Regions from separate parts of the Homo sapiens genome. Here region 1 is linked to region 2. Evidence: promoter capture Hi-C in human tissues and cell types (Jung and others, 2019). All regions are on one chromosome and are shown on one strand. Each heading gives the region's core, a stretch centred on a gene start or on the middle of the fragment in contact. The rest is flanking DNA. Distances are from core to core; before and after follow the strand shown.

Region 1 (2,741 bases), core at 80-2,579, 120 kb before region 2:
AAATTAAATAAATATAGAAGCAGAAAGACTAAGTTGTTATTATGGACTTATTTTGCAGCCAGATTCACTAATGAATGTTTTAAACTAATATTGAAGAGAGGGCAATTCAGTGTGAGAAGACTGATATAAAACTGACTTTCATCCATTGCTGAATCCAATAGCAGGAGTTATCCTGAAATCCTTAGATGCTCTTCAGGGGTTTGTGAACTCTCAGGTATTTGCATGGTATTTTTGTATGTATAGAGATATTTTACTGGAAAACAATTTCTAGCTCCTGTCAGATTTTCAAAGAGGTCTAAGGATCACTGTTCTAAGACTATTTAAAGAATGTGGAAAGGTTGCATATGGTTATACCAGTTAAAGCTTAGTTTTCATAAGATCAAAGATGTGCATTTGAGGTATTTTTCTTTGGAAGAGTCAAGTCAGGCCTGTCTGGATAGTTGCAACGAAAACAGACAGAATAGCTAAGAATTGGATTTAGACAGGCCCATTGTATGAAGTATGATAATAGTGCTATATATATTTATCTCAGTGGCTTAACAAAATAAAAATTTATTTCTCATTCATACAAAGTCCAATGTGGATATGCATAGTCAATAGGCAGCCGTCTATGTGGTCATTCAGAGATGCAGGCTTCTTGCATCCTATGGCTCTGTTTTCCTGTATGGCCTTGGAGTCCTCTGTTCAAGCCTCTGTGTCTAACAGATAGTAGGTATGGGAAGAGAGAGAAGGTGTGGAGGATCATATCAAGGGGTGGACATCATATCCACCCACATTCTTTCTGTGATAATTCAGTCACGTGACCAAGCCTAACTGTAAGAGAGGTTGTAAAGTGAGTTCTGATGAACATATAGCATTTCTGCCCTACCCACTTAAATGAAGCAACAGTACCAGGGAGTAGTTGGAGGTAAAGAAGACATGCTGCTTTATATACTAGGAGAAAGTCCAGTATCATAGGCAGATCAAGATATTCCATAGATGGCAGGCTCGAAGACAGTGGCAGAAGAGGCAGGATTAGAGGAGGTAGAAAAGGATCCACAAGGCTGGGTGCAGTGGCTCATGCCTATAATCCTAACATTTTGGGAAGCTGAGGTGGGTGGATCGCTTGAGCCCAGAAATTTGAGACCAGCTTGGGCAACATAGTGAGACCCTGTCTCTATAAATTTTTTTTTTTTGAGACGGAGTCCCTCTGTTGCCCAGGCTGGAGTGCAATGGCATGATCTCGGCTCACTGCAATCTCCGCCTCCCGGGTTCAGGCGATTCTCCTGTCTCAGCTTCCCAAGTAGCTGGGATTACAGGCGCCTGCCTCCATGCCCGGCTAATTTTTGTGTTTTTAGTAGAGACAGGGTTTCATCATGCTGATCAGGCTGATCTCGAACTCCCAACCTCAGGCAATCAGCCTGCCTCGGCCTCCCAAAGTGCTGGGATTACAGGTGTGAGCCACTGCGCCCAGCCTATAATTTTTTTTTTTTTAATTAGCCACAGGTAGCATGCACCCGTGACCCCCAGATACTTGGGAGGCTGAGGTGAGAGATCACTTGACCCCAGGAAGTTGAGGCTGCAGTTAGCTGTCACTGCACTCCAGCCTGCATAATAGAGCAAGACCCTGTCTCAAAAGAAGAAAAAAGAGAAGCATCTAGAAAATTAGATGGTGACAGTGACATAAAACCTATGAGCAAAAATGCTCAGAATTTTAGACATGTAGGCAGGAAGAATTTGAGAAATCAGTTATTGGTTGTAGAAAGCAGATCCCTAGTCCCCTAATTGGTATTCAGAAAGACCTATAGGTAGGAGTGAGAGATAAAAACAGGGCCAGACAAGAACTACTACAATGAAATAACCAAGATCTGAAAGATTACAGAGATGGAGAATGGGGCAGAAGGGCAGATAGTCCAGACAATTTATGAGACAATTTGCTCATGACCAGAACGTCAGACAAGAGCTATTCAAATTCCTCTTGCCCAAGGTCAGGATTGGTCCTGGAGCAGTGCAGTGCCTGCAGACAGGGGTGAGCTGTGAGAAGAGATGTGTGTGAATTAGATAAATCCTGACATGATCTACCCTCAAACGTTAGGATTAGGGTGAGGATTAGGGCTGGGGTTACTATGCTTCTCAGTGACAGGCAACAACCTTAACTAACCCTAGCTTCCTCACAAATGTCCTGGGATGAAACAGTATAATTGAATTAGTGCAAATCCTTCAGCGTACAAAGCAAATGTCCCAATAAGAGTACGGAGGACCCAGAATGGCATATTTGCTTAGAAGAGAGAAAAATAAAAATAACAGCCAACACATGTGAGACACAGGTCTTGAGCTTTAAATATATCTAACCATTTAATGTGGCCAAAAACCTTTTGAAGAAGGCACCTTTCTCCTTCTGTAAAGGTACTGTAAATTACCCAAATTTTACAGATTAAAAACTAAGGAATGGAGACTTATAAGTGACTTGCTCAAGTCAGTGGTAGAGCTGGGATTCCAAGAGGGTTGGCTGCAGAGTCAATGACCTTAACCACTACGCTATACTTCCTTTCTTAGAAAGTCATATTGTTTCATATAAACTTTTACTCGCTTGATGGATATACCAATGAAGACACAACCTATAAATCTCCCCCGGAGATTTCATTTACCATTTTGTTTCCAGAAAGCTGCCCCATCCTTTTGGAACATAGGCTAAGTAGTAGACAGTCCAAGAAAAAGACATGGACAGTTCACCAGGGTGGACATCCTCTCAAAGAATGTAA
Region 2 (2,863 bases), core at 163-2,662:
TCTGGCCTGAATTACTGCATGAGATCCCAACTCACCTCCTGCACCTACTTTGCTCTTCTTCAAAATTAGCCTCCCCTGCCTGCTGGGAGGCACACCTGAGCTCCTCACTTAACCTCCTGGACAGGCCCTGCCATCCCCTGGCTAAATCTAAACTCCCCGCAGTGTGCCCACCCATCCCCTCTGCACCATCTGTGCCGCACACGTGGCACTGCCACTGTGCTGCCCATTCCTCTGCTCAGGTGCCAGTCCTCCAGGGAAGCCTCCGATGCCCCTCAGCTCCTGGGAGCACTCCGCCTCTGGGTGCCCCTGTATCACCTCATGCTTTCCTCTAGACCTGCACCGGCACTGGGTTGAAGGAAAATAATAGTAGCCAACGTTAATTAGCACATACTCTGGGCCAAGCACCCTTCTAGGCAGTTTAAATGTATTCCTTTATGTCATCCTCAAAAATCCCATGAGGAGGCTGGGGAGCGGTGGCTCATGCCTGTAATCGCAGCACTTTGGGAAGCCAAGTGGGAGGTGGAGGTTGCAGTGAGCTGAGATCACACCACTGCACTCCAGCCTGGGTGACAGAGTGAAACTCCATCTCAGAAAAAAACAAAAAACAAAAAAAACTTTATTTCTCTGTCTAACCCAAATTTTGTGTCCTCTCACCAACTTCTCCCCAGCCCCTCCATCCCTCTTCCCTCTCTTCTTCTGTAGGCTGAGAGCAGCCATTCCAGGGCTGATTGTCCAGGCATGCCCAGCACTGGCCAGTGTGAAGAGGAGGAGCATAGACCACTGCTGTGACTTCCTGGGAGTGGGCTTACACTGGCATCTGTGCAGGCTTCAGGAAAAAGAAGCGAAATCACGGCGTGGATCTAAGGGGCCAAGCCTCACCTTGAAGGTTCTTCTGGGTCTTTGGCCTGGACAAGAACATGAAACTTGAATTTCTCAAGGTGAGGTGAAGGCCAAGCAGGAAGCCAGGATGGTCACCAGGAAAGGAGCCAGAATGAACTAAGTGTTCTTTAGGGCAAGGAACTTACCAGAACCTCTACGCTCCGAGCTATGATCAGGCTGCTCTCTCCCTCTCTCTCTCTCTCTCTCTCTCCCCCACCCCCCCGACCCCTTTGTGGCCAAGGTAAGGCCACATTTTAGAGTGGAAGCCCCAAGGCAACCCCCCACCTCACAACCTCCACTCTTGTTGCCCTCTCTAATCCAACGCCTGCCAGGCTCACACTTCAACCACTAGACTGAAAAGCAAGAATCTTCCACAAAAATAATCTTTTACCTTAGACCTGCTTCCTGTGCAGATGAGATAAGGAGAATGCTCTTGTCTGAATTTCTGGGCGTGGAGATTAGCAAGCCGTTTTCCTCCCAGCAGCTAGAGCGAGCAAGAGGCCCTGCTGTGAGTAGTGCTGTTCTGAGTCTGCGTGGTCCAGACTCACCACACTGCAGGCACGTTTCTTCATCAGGTGGGAAAGCAGGAAGAGGTTTAATTTAGGACCTAAAGCTGGTATATTGCTGAGTAAAAGAAATGGGAAGGCACCAAGTCTCTAACGAAATTGCGCTGGGTGCAGTGGCTCATGCCTCTAATCCCAGCACTTTGAGAGGCTGAGGTGGGTGGATCACTTGCGGTCAGGAGTTTGAGACCAGCCTGGTCAACGTGGCGAAACCCCATCTCTACTAAAAATATAAAAATTAGCCAGGCATGGTGGCGGGCGCCTGTAATTCCAGCTACTCGTGAGGCTGAAGCAGGAGAACGCTTGAACCTGAGAGGCAGAGGTTGTAGTGAGCTGAGCTCGCCGCTGCCCTCCAGACTAGGTGACAGAGCCAGATTCCGTCTCAAAAAAACAAAAAAAAAAGAAAAAGAAACTGCTTGTGATCCAACACTCCCCCACTGGTGCCTCCTCATGGTGAAGAGCAATTACTCTGGCACCAGAGTCTTGGGGTTCAAATCCTTACTTCACCAGTATGTGACTGGAAAAGCTACCTAACCTGCCTGCTGAAGCTTCATGGCTAATAATTCCTCACAGCATTTCTTTTTTTCTTTTTTTTTTTTGAGACAGAGTCTTGCTCTGTCACCCAGGCTGGAGTGCAGTGGCATCATCTCAGCTCACTGCAACCTCCACCTCCCTGGTTCAAGCTTCTGCCTCAGCCTCCCAAGTAGCTGAGATTACAAGCGCCCACCACTAAGCCTGGCTAATTTTTGTATTTTCAGTAGAGATGGGGTTTCACCATGTTGGTGAGGCTGGTCTTGAATTCCTGACCTCAAGTGATCCGCCCACCTTGGCCTCCCAATGTGCTGGGATTATAGGCGTGAGACACTGCGCCTGGCCCAGGAGGAATAAGTTTAAGAGCTCCCATTGTACAGCATGCTATCTATAGTTAATAACAATATATCGTGTATCGAAAATTGCTAAGACAGTAGATGTTAAGTGTCTTTATCACCCCCAAAAAATGACAAGTATATGGGGCAATTAAGTCAAATAGCTTGACTTAATAATTCCACAATGTATACATAAATTAAAACATCAAGCTGTATTTGTATACCATAATATATACAATTTTTACTTGTCAATTAAATAAATAAATACACAGAAAAGGGCAGAGACAGGTCAAGAAGCACAGCACTCAGTACAGAAATACAGATAACAATATATTGAAAGAAAGAATTCAAAGATAAATTTTTTTTTTTTTTTTTTGGAGACAGAGTCTTGCTCCATTGCCTAGGGTAGAGTACAGAGACACAATCACAGCTCTCTGCAACCTCAACCTCCCAGGCTCAAGTGATCCTCCCACTTCAGCCTCCCAAATAGCTAGGACTGCAGGGTATGCCACCACAACCTGGCTAATACTTGTATTTTTTTGTAGAGATGGGGTT

The links. The method cuts DNA at HindIII sites, captures the fragments that hold promoters and counts their contacts. A contact is called where the count stands out against the background at its distance.
Region 1: a fragment that was not itself captured here is called in contact with the fragment with the promoter of S100Z in region 2 in 2 of the 25 tissues and cell types used here (bladder and heart right ventricle).

Annotation. Positions count from the first base shown.
Region 1 is chr5:76,970,932-76,973,672 of GRCh38, reverse strand. It overlaps a transcript of CRHBP not described here. Among named protein-coding and RNA genes, the nearest start is that of CRHBP, 19 kb to the right of the region's middle. The HindIII fragment of the contact is 3,483 bases long and covers 1-2,741 here.
Region 2 is chr5:76,848,563-76,851,425 of GRCh38, reverse strand. S100Z (S100 calcium binding protein Z) reads right to left here and starts at 1,412. Exons shown (of 5, transcript NM_130772.4): 1 at 1,271-1,412. The HindIII fragment of the contact is 8,325 bases long and covers 1-2,863 here.